5 separate regions of the Homo sapiens genome follow, and regions 1, 3, 4 and 5 are each linked to region 2. Evidence: promoter capture Hi-C in human tissues and cell types (Jung and others, 2019). All regions are on one chromosome and are shown on one strand. The core of a region is centred on a gene start or on the middle of the fragment in contact, and the rest is flanking DNA. Distances in the headings are between cores, read along the strand shown.

Region 1 (2,700 bases), core at 158-2,657, 630 kb before region 2:
CTTCCTGCCTCGGCCTCCCAAAGTGCTAGGATTACAGGCATTAGTCACTGTACCTGGCTGAAATTCATAATTTTTGCTGTGGCCTTTACCTCTCTACTTGACCCAGCCTCTGGTCACATCTCTGATCTCCCTGCCCTCCATATACCTCAGTGTTCACCATACTTCTACCATAAGGGCAGTTTCTGTCTTTCAACTCATGAGTCCACCTCAGGGCTCCTGTTCTTGGCGCTCGCTCTGCTCGGAGTGCTCTTCACCTGCTGCCTCTTTCCTCATTCACATCTCGGGAGGCCTTTCCCAGCCATCCTAATTCAGGTAGCATCCCCACCCCACCCCAGTTGCCCAGTTTTATTTTTGCATCATAATACCTGACGTCATATCATTCATTTCTAGCTTTCTTGGGTAACTGTTTCACCTCTGCTAGAAGATCCTGGAGGGCAATCACCTTGTCTGTTTAATTAATCACTCTCTAGTGTCTGGAACAGTGCCCAGCACAATAAATGCTTGTTGAAGGAATGCATGAATATATGCTGATAACTAACATCTGCACCTTCAGCACAACTCTTGAACACCACCTCATATCATTCAACCTCCTCACTGGGTTCTGCCACAGGTGCCTCACTTCATGCATTTTTGTATGTTTGGTGAGATTTTGAAGGTATATTAAGAGAGTATTAGAAAAATCAAGAATGCCTGAATTCTGCCCTGCCAATCATCCCCTTCCCAGAGAAAACCTCAAGGGTGGTTCAAGGAACAAGTAGAAAATAAGGTACCACTTTATTACTAGCTGAAATAGTGCCTGATATCTTGATGCAGAGCATTCTGGTAAAGTGGATTGGAGACTGTGGCTTAGGCTTGCACCACAAGCAAAAGCTTGAGCACAAACCAAATTTCAGGATCTCTGCTATTCTCTACTGGACACATGGCCCATGATAAAAGGCATGAGAAGAATAGAGCCAAGCCTGGTGGCTGGGCCCACCTTGAGAAGGATGGCTGTGGCCCTCAACTGCATGGCTGGGTGGAAGAGGAAGAAAAAAAGAACCCAACCAAAAAACTTGACTTTTGTTTTTTAAACGGAGTCTTGCTCTATCGCCCAGACTAGAGTGCAGTGGCATCATCTCCTCGGCTCACTGCAACCTTCGCCTCCTGGGTTCAAGCAATTCTTCTGCCTCAGCCTCCCAAGTAGCTGGGACTACAGGCACACACCACCATGCCCGGCTAATTTTTGTTTTTTTATTAGAGACGGGGTTTCACCATGTTGGCCAGGCTGGTCTAAAACCCCTGACCTCGTGATCCACCTGCCTCGGCCTCCCAAAGTGCTGGAATTACAGGCATGAGCCACCCCGCTCAACCAAACTTGACTTTTAAAGCACAGGAAAATGTAACCAATCAAATTAACATTGTTCTTTCAGGAAAGAACAAGAAGGGAGGTTTTCCTAGGCTGGGAAGAGAAGCTCAGTGTTCCCTTCCCCCGGCAGAGACCTACAACCATCCCCCTAAGACCCCGTCACCTTTTGCATTCCTCATCTTAGGGACCGTACCACACTTCACCAGCTGTCCAAGCCAGAAACGTTGGCATAACAAAGTTTCCCTCTTCCTCAACTCTCATGTTCACACTGATTTCACTTCCTAAGAAGGTTTTGACTTCATCCATACTGCCTTAGCCCCGCTCCAGTTCAGGCCACAGCATTTCTGGCTCATCCCCATCAAATGCATCTTGCACATTGTGCAGGTAGACTACTCATTCTGAGTAATGCAAAATTGGTCACCCACTGCCTTGCTGCAAACTCTTCAGAGACTGCCCTTTTCTCTGAGAGTAAAGTTCATACTCTTTAAAGGCTTACAAGGCCTGGTAACATCACGGCCCTGCTCACTTTCCCAACATTGTCTCTTACTATCTCCTACAAACAGGTCCATGTTCCAGCCACACTGAACTTAAGTTCTTCAAACTCCACCCTCATTGTTGCCTTGCTGTGCCATTCCTCTACCTCTTTCTCTACCTTCTCTTCATCCTTCAGATCTCAGCAATTAGAGACATCACATCTTTATCTGAGAACTGCCCTGTGCAGATACTTGCTGAAGTCTAACCTAGCAGTCCCAACTTTGATGGCCATGCCTACCTATGTTCTCATGACAGCCTGAGCCTCCTAGCGTGGGCATTTACCCCACTGTATTGCAATTGCCTCTTTCCTTGTCTAACTTTCCCACTCAGATGTGAAATTCCTTAGAGCAGAGACCCATTCTTTCTAAGTAATGGTTCTAGTCCTATGGTCTGACCAGAGTACATTTAATGAATACAAGAACAGCAAAAAATATTCAACGTATCTTCCTTGTTTATTTGACTTTTGGCTCTAATAATAAGGTCTCTCTTGCAGGCAACCAAGTTGTTAAAAGCCTTGAAAGGCTACATTAAACATGAGGCAAGAAAAGGAAATGAGAATCAGGTGAGTAATGTTTTTCATGTTTACCTGTTAGCTAGCAAAATAATCATATTTGGTTAATGGGCAATTAACACACAACTAGTGATGATTTAAGACATGCTGTTGGCCAGGTGTTGTGGCTCACGCCTATACTCCTAGCACTTTGGTAGGCAGTGGCAGGCGGATCACTTGAGTCCAGGAGTTCGAGACCAGCCTGGCCAACATGGTGAAACCCCGTCTCTACTAAAAATACAAAAATTAGCCAGATGTGGTGGCGGGAGCC
Region 2 (2,700 bases), core at 166-2,665:
GATAGCTACTCTATTTGTAGGAACTATTTAGGTCACTGGAGTGGAGAAAAAGAGGTCGCTACTTAACAGAAATGGCATGTATCCAAATATAGATGCAGTTTTCTCAACACCTGTTGCACATCAAATGATGAAGAGATTGTTACAATTTCCAAAACCCTGGACCAAAACCTTAAATGATCAGCACTTTGTTTCAACTGATACACGGCTTAAGTCAGAAAAATAAGTTCTTCTTACCAAAAACAGTGAGCCTAAATATGCTGGCTGCTTTAGAAATAAAACAGGTGATCAACAAAGCAATCTGTTTCTGTCTAAATAATTTCCCAGCAAAAGTCACTTCTTTTGAAACTATATGATTTGAACCACAGGGTATGCACAGTGATTGTGTGCTTTCAGAAACACGGTAAGCATGACAAATATTTTCAGTTGTCAAGGGTAAGCGAGGAGGGAATGACCCACCTAAGAAATGGAAACTAACAAATAGTAATATGACACTCCCCCTTAGTTCCACAGGCTGGTGCGGCTGCTACACGCAGCTCACTTCCTACGGGCGGCTAAAGGCGGTGCATGAACTGAACGTAGGCGGCCTCTTTATCCCCTCCCCACAACACTGTGGGGTGGCACGTAAAGACCTCAAGGGAAGGGGGCCTGGGCGATACGCTCTCCTGCTGCCATTCATTTGTTCAAGAAATAGTTGAACAAATGAATAGTTAAACAAACTCTCCAACTAGGACTCTGTCCCATTCGGATACCCTACGCCTCTCCCCCCATTTCCATCCCTAGGCATCACTCCCTCGTCAAGAATATGCTGATTATGGCTCGCGCCCCCTCTCTCCCTTGGACCCTCCCGCCAGGGCGACCGGACGAGGCCAGCGGGAGCAACGCCTTCCGAACCGCAAGGAAGGAGGGCTCGGAGTGCGCAGGGCGCGGGTTCGCGGGACCCTCCAGCGCGCGGGGCTGGCCAGCCGGGGCGGGGCCGAGGGCACCGGGCGCCGAGCTCCGGGAGGGGTCCCCGAGGTCGCGCCGGCCGGGAGGGGCAGCGGCGGGAGGCGGCCGACTGCGGCGCACACGTGGGGAGGGCGGAGCGGGGCGGGAGCCGGGCGAGGGGCGGTGACGGTACCTGATGAAGGTGGTCTTGCCGGTGCTGTACTGGCCCACCAGCAGGATCATGGGCTTGTTCTCGAAGTCGGCGTCCTCCAGCGCAGGCGAGTGGAACTCGTGGAAGCGGTACGCCTCCTCCAGCGGCAGCACCTTGCGCAGGTAGAGCGAGCGCAGCCCGCCCGTCACCGTCTGCACCGCGTCCGCGCCGCCAGCGCGTTCGCGCCCGCCCGCCTGCCGCCCCATCCAGCTGAACATCCTGCCGCCAGTCCACGCTCGGATGGGACCCTGCTCCGGGTTCGACTCTCCCCGGCTCGCACTGAGCCGCCCCGGCCGCGCTGGCCGCCGCCCGAGGAGGGCCCCGCCTTGTGCTGCCACAGCCAGTCTTCGGCCGCTACGTCACGCGCGCTCGCCCACTATTCAGACGAGCTCTCTCAGGTCCTTCCTGATTGGATCTCTGCCAGAGAGGGCTGAAGGCGTCAGCCAATTGAGAGGAGGTTCTTAATGAATTATTGATGACGGAGTCATTCTAGAGGACTGGGCGGGGAGATGGTGTCTTCCCGGCCGGGTGGCACTGACCGGTCATGCTCAGGGCCCCCTTCTGGTTGCCGGTGCCTCACCTCTGGCCAGGTGGCATCGGCTTCCGGGTAAATCTGAGCTGCCCAAAGCGAGCCTCCGGAGGCTGCTCCATCTCCTGGAACGTTTACTCATTCAGGCCTCTGGACGTCGATACTGGGGATGAAAAGTTCAGAAAGTGGACAGGCAGGTTCTGTCTTCCCGGGGGCGGGTGGTTATGACTCCGTTTTACAGGCCAAGAGACCCAGGCTCACGGGCATAATTGACACAATCTTGAGGGGAAGTGGACTGGAATCTATTTGAGTAGCCGTTTCTCCTACTTCTCCACATTGCCCTCACTAAATTCTGGATCAGCTAAAGGCTTTTTCCCCTTAGTTTTCTTTATGTGTTTTTCTGTAAAGCCGAAAATTTAGTCATTACTCTCATTATTACATTATCCTCATTATTACAACTTTATTTCCACATATTGACATGTGAGTCATTGTCACCTCCTAGCTGTTTTTTGTTGTTGTTGTTGTTTTCTGAGACGGAGTCTCGCTCTGTCGCCCAGGCTGGAGTGCAGTGGCACGATCTCGGCTCACTGCAACCTCCGCTTCCCGGGTTCAAGCAATTTTCCTGTCTCAGCCTCCTGAGTAGCTGGGACTACAGGCGCTCACCACCATGCCCAGCTAATTTTTGTATTTTTAGTAGAGATGGGGTTTCACCATATTGGTAAGGCTGGTCTTGAACTCCTGACCTCAGATGATCCGCCTGCCTTGGCCTCCCAAAGTATTGGGATTATAGGCGTGAGCCACCGCCCCTGGCCTGTTTCTTTTCTAGGTTAAAAGGATACTCACTTATCTAAGTTGAGATTGGGGGAAATAATCACCTTTTGTGTCCTTGATTGTAGCTTAGGAATATTTCTTAGTTGTTTTAGAGCATTTCTCAAGTGTGATCCATGGGGCCACCTGCATATATGCATTTATGAGCTGGGATGCTTGTTAAAATGCAGATTCCTGGTCTTCAGTCCAGACCTACTGAGTTAAAATA
Region 3 (2,700 bases), core at 153-2,652, 680 kb after region 2:
CTCAGCACTAACATTTCTTGTATTCTGTATGGATCCTTAAGAATCCACCATGTGTAAACAATCCTCGTCCTAACAGTTTTTCCTTGTATACACAGAATCACAGCAGCCACCCATGTTCATGAGGCCAGCAGCAGATCCCACGCCATTTTCACGATCCACTACACGCAGGTTGGTAACTCCTTATGTTTGGTGAGATTTCTTCCTCTCCTTGTACCTTTAAACCACTTTCTTGTCTTCCTTCCTATTTCTTTTTTTGTTTGTTGGTTTTTGAGACAGGGTCTCAGTCTGTTGCCCAGACTGGAGTGCAGTGGCGCGATCTCGGCTCACCTGAACCTCTGCCTCCCAGGCTCAAACAATTCTCCTGCCTCAGCCTCCCAAATAGCTGGGATTACAGGAGACGCCACCATGCCCGGCTAATTATTTTTTAATTTTTAGTAAAGACGGGGTTTCACCATGTTGGCCAGACTGGTCTCAAACTCCTGACCTCAGATGATCCACCTGGCTCGGCCTGCCTAAGTGCTGGCATTACAGATGGGAGCCATCGTTCCCGGCCCTGTTTCTTTTCCTTTCCTCCTACTCTCATATTTATAGGTCCTCTGATAGAACCTAATATTGTAAACCGGATTTACACACAATCCGTTAAGCTATACACCTAGAATGGGTAGAAGCATTTTATAAAGACTAATCAAAATATCTTCTGCTTATATTTATTTTTAACATTTTAAAACGCTTTCACATCGGTGTGATCAGTATGGACATTTAAAACAAAAGGTTGAAAAGAAAATAAGCATTAAAATGAAATATTAGAAGATTCACTTCCATTGTGATGGATTGAGGAGGTCAAGTCATATCCCCAAAAAGCAACTATAAAGCTGGACAAAATCCTTTCTGTGGTCTGAAAATAGATTAAAGGAATGTAACAAAGTGAGAAGTACCACACCCAAAATAAAATGATGACTAAAAACTTCCTAAATTTGTTGAAAATCATTTATAGATCTAAGAAGCTCAAAGGACTCCAAGTAAAATAAACACAAAGAGATCCACACCTAGACACATCATAGTTAAACTGTTGAAAGACAAAGAGAAAATCTTAAAAACAGCTAGAGAAAAGTGACTTATACAGTAGAACAATTACGTGATGAATGGCTGACTTCTCATCAGAAGCATTGAACCCTTAGAAGTCAGGGGGCTGAGATAATATAAAAAACTGGCAATAAGAACATTCCCAGATTGGAAAAATAAAAAGTAGAATTTATTGCCAGCAGACTTACCTGACAAGAAAACTAAATGAAATCTTCTAGGCTGAAAGAAAGTGATATTAGAAAGTATCTTAAATCTATAGGAGACAGTGAAATATCTGGGAATGATAAATGTGTGAGTAAATATAAAAAAAACCTACATTCTTTCTCGTTTCTTCTCCTAATGTCAATAAAAGAATAAGATTACATAAAACCACAATTGTAACAATGCATTTTTGTACATTGTCATATATGAAAATAACAGCACAAGGGAAATGAAAGGAGATATATTTAAGTAGAGTTACTATATTTTACAGGAATTAAGTTAGTATTATTTTAAAGTAGATCATAAATAAAGATATGTATTGTAATCTGTAGAGCAAGTACTAAGAAAATAGCTCAAAAATACAATTTTAAAAATCAACATTTCTTCTGCCTCCTCTGGGCAGAAAAAACAACAGAAATTAAAATGGTACATATTAATAAAAATACCTAACAGTTAAAGGCAGTGGAGGAAGAACAGAGGAACAAAGGAGATATGAGACACAGAAAAAAGAAAAATCAGACATGGATGGTTCTGAGCACATCAATAATTATTAAATACATTAAGTGTGAATTGCCTAAGGTACAAATTTTCAGATTGCATAAAAGCAAGACCCAACTACATGCTGTCTATAAGAAACACACCTTAGAATCACAGACACAGGTTGAAAGTAAAAGGATGGAAAAAGATATACCATAATAATAGTAACCATAAGTCCTAGCTAGAGTAATGAGACAAGAGAAAGAAATAAAGGGCATCCAGATCAGTAAAGAGGAAGTCAAACTGTTGCTGTTCGCTGACAACATGATTGTATACCTAGAAAACCCTAAAGACTTATCCAAAGAGCTCCTGGAACTGGTAAATGAATTCAGCGAAGTTTCAAGATACAAAATTAATGTACATGAATCAGTAGCTGTGCTATACACCAGCAGCAGACAAGCTGAGAATCAAATCAAGAACTCAACATTTTTTACAATAGCTGAAAAAAAAAAATACTTAGGCATACACTTAACCAAGGAGGTGAAAGACCTGTACAAGAAGAACTACAAAACACCGCTGAAAGAAATCATATATGACACAAACAAATGGAAACATATCTCATGCTCATGGATGGGTAGAATCAGTATTGTGAAAATGGCCATACTGCCTAAAGCAGTCTACAAATTCAATGCAATCCCCATCAAAATACCACCATCATTCTTCACAGAACTAGAAAAGACAGTCCTAAAATTCATATGGAACCAAAAAAGAGCCCACATAGCCAAAGCAAGACTAAGCAAAAAGAACAAATCTGGGCCAGGCGCAGTGGCTCATGCCTGTAATCCCAGCACTTTGGGAGGCCGAGGCAGGCGGATCACTTGAGGTCAGGAGTTTGAGACCAGCCTGGCCAACATGGTGAAACCCCTCTCTACTAAAAAT
Region 4 (2,700 bases), core at 151-2,650, 940 kb after region 2:
TTAAATGCTCATGTCTGCATCTTCCCTTCATAATACCTGGAACACTTGTAATTCCTTCTCCTGCAAATCTCTGCTTCCACTATTTGTAAGCTCCAAAAGTGAGTAGATTATTTGTCTTGTTGGCTGTTAAATCTCCAACCCCTAGCACAGTAACATGGTAGATGCTTAGCAAGTATTTAATCAAGGAATGAGGCTACTGTTACACAGTAATCCCCCTTATCCATGGTTTCACTTTCTGCAGTTTCAGTTACCCGTGGTCAACCACAGTCCAAAAATATTAAATGGAGAATTCCAGAAATAAACAATTCATACGTTTTAAATTGTATATTGTTTTGAGTATGGTGATGAAATCTCAAGCTGTTCAGCTCTGTTGCACCTAGGACGTGAACCATCCCTTTGTCCAGCATGTATCTGCACCGTCTGTGCTGTTTGTCACTTAGTAGCCATCTTGGTTGTTAGATCACTGTCTCAGTATAGCAGTGCTTGTGTTCAAGTAACTAACTCTTATTTTACTTAATAATGGCCCTAAAACACAAGAGTAGTGATGCTGGCATATTACGATAACTGTTCTATTTTATTAGCTATTGTTATTATTCCCTTACTATGCTTAATTTATAAACTTTATCACAGCCATGTATGTATAGGAAAAGCATAATTATCTATAGGGTAAGGTACTATCTGAGGTTTCAGGCATCCACTGGGGGTCTTGGAATGCATGCCCCTTAGATGGGGATGACTACAGTAGTTTAAAGTTTCACAGAGACCAAAGTAAGGTGGTAGCAATGGAAATAAAATGCAGAGGGCTAGGCATTGTGCCTCATGCCTATAATTCCTGCACTTTGGGAGGCTGAGGTGGGAGGATTGCTTGAATTCAGGAGTTCAAGACCAGCCTGGGCAACATAGTGGGACCCCACCTATACAAAAAATTGTAAAATTAGCCAAGTGTGGTGGCACATGCCCGTAGTCCCAGCTACCCAGGAGGCTAAGGGGGGAGGACTGCCTGATCCCAGGAGGTCAAGGCTGCAGTGAGCTACGATCATGGCACTCCAGCCTGGGCAACAGAGCAAGACCCTGTCTCCAAAAAAAGAAAGAAAGCAGAGGTTTTGTGTGGGTGAGATCCAGGAGAAATAGGGAGCAAAAAGAAAAAAGAAAAAAGAAAAGAGAGAGAGAGAATGTGTGTTTTGATCCTGTATGACTAAATGATAATGCCTTTATTTATAGAATTAAGGAAGTTAAAAAGAGAACTGACTATTATCTTGGATATGTTGAATTTTTTAAGTGCTAGGGAAGTCCAGCAGAAATGAAGTCCTAATCTAGTTTATTATCTACCATATAATTTAGCCTCCAGATGATTTTTCTTAAATCAAATTTCCATGAGAGGCAAGGCTCACATTTTTTTCTTTGGTTATTCATTTTTTCCTATTTTCCTCCCCTCATCTTCGCCTTATTGGTCATTGAAAAATGTTTTTTGTTTTTGTTTTTGATACAGAGTTTCACTCTGTCACCCAGGCTGGAGTGCAGTGGCACAATCTTAGCTCACTGCAACCACCGCCTCCGGGTTCAAGCAATTCTCCTGCCTCAGCCTCCCAAGTAGCTGAGATTACAGGTGCATGCCACCACATCCTGCTAATTTTTCTATTTTTAGTTGGGATGCGGTTTCGCCACGTTGGCCAGACTTGTCTCCAACTCCTGACCTCAAGTGATTCAATTACCTACCTTGGCCTCCCAAAGTGCTAGGATTACACGTGTGAGCCACCACACCCGGCTGAAAAATGGTGATAAAACTTTTAGATATTTTTGAAACTGAAGCACTTGGAGGATCAAGAAATTTAAAAAGACTTTACAAACTTCATCTATAATATATAACGTGGAAAATTCAATGTTGGAAAAATATGAACAAAATATAGTCTTTCAATGATCATATGGCTAGAACAAGATGATGGAAACTGCAACTCCATTTTTTTAAAGGCAACTACTTTGAAACTGCAGAAAGAAAAAGACAAATATAAAAATATTAATTATAAAACCATTTTGGTAAAAACATATATAATGGCAAATATGTTTTCTAATTCAAACATTTTAAAATGCTGATTCTTGTTTTCAATAAAGATGTTAATTCTCTGTTTAAAAAAATAATGATTCTGAAAACATGGTTAAATCTCGATAGCTTACCAAAGGAAGCTAAGAAGCTACTTAGTAACTTCCACTCTTTAGGAGGCACTATTACATCCCAGATTCTTTTCAAAGGACACTTAAGTTTTTCACATTGGGAAGCTTTACCCTAACTGAAGTGAAAGCAAATTCCTATATACAATAAAAAACAGCTATAAACACTCCAAAACACCAAGGATTATAGAGACAAAGGTTAAAAAAAAAATCACAGGAAAAAAAATCCAAAATGTTCACAAAAGTTTGTAAGTACTATATGTTCACTTAAGCATCAAGAATAAAGTCACATGACATTAATGAAAATATACTAAGAAGGCTATTTAAAAATAACCAACTGAAAAGAAGAAACTATCTAGCAAAATTGACATTCATATTATGTTATAATATAATTTCAATCTGTATTATAAACCTATAATCAAGGATCACCAGACTTTAATGAGGCAGTTTTGAGTAGTAATATGTGTTGTCCTTATGCTCAAAATTTAGTTCTAAAAAACTGAATTTTTTCATATGACCTTAAAGGCTCTTTCA
Region 5 (2,700 bases), core at 151-2,650, 600 kb after region 2:
TTAAAATATGTCAAGATAACAAGAGAAGCAGCTTCTGCTGACCAAGAGGGAGCAAATGAGTTCCTAGACACCATTAAGGAAATAATTGAGAAGAAAGGGTATCTGCCTGAACAGCTTTTCGGTGCATATGCAAGTTCCCTATTCTGGAAAAATAAATGCCACAAAGGACATTTATTAGTAAGGAAGAGAAGCAAGCACCAGGATTTAAGGCAGGAAGGGATACGCTAATATTTTGTGCAAATGCAGTTGGGTTTATGATCAGCACTGCCCTTATCTATATGGCTGCTAACCCTCAAGCCTTGAAGGGAAAAGATAAACACCAGCCACCTGTCTTTTGGTTGTACAAGAAGACCTGGACAATAACCCTTTATCTGAATTGGTTCCATCTATGCTTTGTCCCTGATGTCAGGAAGTACCTTGCCAGTAAGGGACTGCCTTCTATTTTTTTATTTTATTTTTTTTAGACAGGGTTTTGCTCTGTCGCCCAGGCTGAAGTACAGTGGCGCGATCCAGGCTCACTGCAGCCTCCGCCTCCAGGGTTCAAGTAATTCTCCTGCCTCAGCCTCCCGGGTAGCTGGAATTACAGGCGCACGCCAACAGGCCCGGCTAATTTTCGTATTTTGAGTACAGACGGGGTTTCACCAGGTTGGTCAGGCTGAACTCGAACCCCTGACCTCAGGTGATCTCGCTTCAGCCTCCCAAAGTGCTGGGATTACAGACGTGAGCCACTGCACCCGGCCTGCCTCGAAAATTTAACCACAGAATTGACAGTTCAAGCGAACGCAGAGAATAAAAGTATTTAGCAAATTACTTTGCAAACTTTCGGACCAAAAGTTGATTTACTTGACTTTACATAGCACGGACACCTAGTCGAGGAACAAAAACTATTTCTGGGTAAGCGGGGCCAGGAACAACAGACTTAGCACTGAGTCCTCGCGGCCCACTCGGCTCAGGATTGGCTGAAGCTGGGCCGGCACTGCTGGGCCCGGTGCGGCACGCGCATGGGTGGGGGCGTCCCAAGAGGCTGTAGGGCGGAGCGAGGCGGGGCGAGCCCGGGCGTCCTCCCGCCCACCGACTAGCCAAGGCTCGGCGGGCACCACCCAGCTCGGGATGCAGCGCGTGTTTGGGCGGGGGCGACCCGGGAGGCTTCGGATGGAACGAGGCGGAGCGAGCCCTGGCATCCTCCCGCCCACCAGGCTAAGGACTGGCCGAACGTCCACACGGGCCCGCCTGCTCTGGCTGCGGCGCGTGTTTGGGCGGGGGCGAGTCAGGAGGCTTTAAGGAGGATTGAGGGGAGGCGGGGCCGGGAGTTCTCCCGCCCACCGGGCTCAGGATTGGCCGAAGCTAGGCAGGCACCGCCCCGCTCGGGCGGCAGCTCGCGTCCGCGCGGCGGCGTCCCCAGAGGCGCGTGGGGCGGGCGGGGCTGGGTTGGGGCTGTGTCTGGGCTTAGGGCGGGGGCCTGGGATGCTGCCGCTGAGCTGACCCGCTGGACTTGGGTTGTGGCAGACGGATGGCGAACGTGCAGGTCGCCGTGCGGGTCCGGCCGCTCAGCAAGAGGTGAGTCTCCGCGGGAGAGGGCGCCTGAGGCTTCACAGGAGCTGAAAAGAGCGGGAGGTCCGCGTCTCCCCCTGCAGAGATTCTGGCGCGCAGAAATCGGTGACAAAGTGACCCGGGGGGTCGGGGTCCGGAATCCACGGAGGCCTGGCGGGACGGGACCTCAGTCGAGCTTTCGCGTTGTGTCCTGGGGATAGCGGTTCCCGGACGGCCGCGGGAGGGCTGCCCTGGGTGAGCGTCGCTGGCGTCCTGCCAGCAGGAGTTTCGAGGGACGGCGGCTCGAGGCTTGCTGCATCGGGTTGGGCCTTTGAGAAAGGCTGGGAGAGGGATGAGCATTCTCCTCTCTCTTTCTGGGGGCTTGGGAGTACCCATGAGGACTGAGGCTGAATGGTGTGTGTTTCTGGGTGCGCGTGGGCTTCTCTGCGAAGATGTGGAGAAAGCAGAAGGTGAGGGCGTGAGGGGGAAATTGAGGCCGACACAGGTCGCGGTTTCTTTCTATGCTCGACAGCTGATTTAATCCAGGACGGAACTGTTAAGTAGGGGAAGTTGTTCCAACCCCTTCTTTCTCTCAGAGCCCTCAGTGCCCGTTTTCTCGTGGCTTATTTTGATTCCGCACCTCTCATCTCAGCCCTTGAGACATCCAGTGTGCAGCCACGAACTTTTTTCTCTTTGTCACCAGATGAAGTGTTTTTTAAAGATCAATTAGAGTTTGTTGACAGGTGGAGAGAGTTTAAAGAGCCTTCTATGTAGTAAGACCGCCAAGAGCAAAGGACTTAGACTGTAAGGGACTAACTAGAGGTTAAGTTTTGGTGGGGAAAGGGTGGTTGGTGTGGAGGGAAGTGAGTGGTGGAAGGTAAATCTGGCAGAGGGTGCTTTGGGGACCAGGAGGCACATGTTGGAATTATTTGGCAAGTTTAAAAATCTCTGGGACATAAGATAGCTTGATAATTGGGCAGAAGGATCAAGAAAGGTATCGTCTCCCATAATAAAATTGGGTACTAGTGTGGATTATGTTCGTCCTCATATAGAAATGATTGGCTTTGAAAAGTCTTGTAATTGACAGACTAATGAGAAGAGCAATGAGATAGAAAGAAACAAAAAGTTAAAGAGAATAGGAAGAAGGCAAAAGAGGTACACTGAAGAAAG

Evidence for each region. The method cuts DNA at HindIII sites, captures the fragments that hold promoters and counts their contacts. A contact is called where the count stands out against the background at its distance.
Region 1: a contact is called between a fragment that was not itself captured here and the fragment with the promoter of EHD4 in region 2, in 1 of the 25 tissues and cell types used here (spleen).
Region 3: a fragment that was not itself captured here is called in contact with the fragment with the promoter of EHD4 in region 2 in 1 of the 25 tissues and cell types used here (dorsolateral prefrontal cortex).
Region 4: a contact is called between a fragment that was not itself captured here and the fragment with the promoter of EHD4 in region 2, in 1 of the 25 tissues and cell types used here (hippocampus).
Region 5: a contact is called between the fragment with the promoter of STARD9 here and the fragment with the promoter of EHD4 in region 2, in 1 of the 25 tissues and cell types used here (neural progenitor cells).

Annotation. Positions count from the first base shown.
Region 1 is chr15:41,340,014-41,342,713 of GRCh38, forward strand. NUSAP1 (nucleolar and spindle associated protein 1) reads left to right here. Exons shown (of 11, transcript NM_016359.5): 2 at 2,373-2,441. Among named protein-coding and RNA genes, the nearest start is that of NUSAP1, 8.5 kb to the left of the region's middle. The HindIII fragment of the contact is 4,302 bases long and covers 1-2,700 here.
Region 2 is chr15:41,971,142-41,973,841 of GRCh38, forward strand. EHD4 (EH domain containing 4) reads right to left here and starts at 1,416. Exons shown (of 6, transcript NM_139265.4): 1 at 1,118-1,416. The coding sequence starts at 1,353. It overlaps PLA2G4E-AS1 (PLA2G4E antisense RNA 1), which reads left to right and starts at 1,622. Exons shown (of 4, transcript NR_120334.1): 1 at 1,622-1,857; 2 at 2,663-2,700. RefSeq lists silencers at 858-1,127, 1,228-1,297, 1,338-1,467. The HindIII fragment of the contact is 6,706 bases long and covers 1-2,700 here.
Region 3 is chr15:42,652,425-42,655,124 of GRCh38, forward strand. STARD9 (StAR related lipid transfer domain containing 9) reads left to right here. Exons shown (of 33, transcript NM_020759.3): 9 at 96-168. Among named protein-coding and RNA genes, the nearest start is that of STARD9, 78 kb to the left of the region's middle. The HindIII fragment of the contact is 8,421 bases long and covers 1-2,700 here.
Region 4 is chr15:42,914,864-42,917,563 of GRCh38, forward strand. All of the region lies in intron 1 of TTBK2 (tau tubulin kinase 2), which reads right to left. Among named protein-coding and RNA genes, the nearest start is that of TTBK2, 4.6 kb to the right of the region's middle. The HindIII fragment of the contact is 6,776 bases long and covers 1-2,700 here.
Region 5 is chr15:42,574,206-42,576,905 of GRCh38, forward strand. It overlaps STARD9 (StAR related lipid transfer domain containing 9), which reads left to right and starts at 1,401. Exons shown (of 33, transcript NM_020759.3): 1 at 1,401-1,557. The coding sequence starts at 1,511. RefSeq lists a silencer at 909-1,538. The HindIII fragment of the contact is 9,099 bases long and covers 1-2,700 here.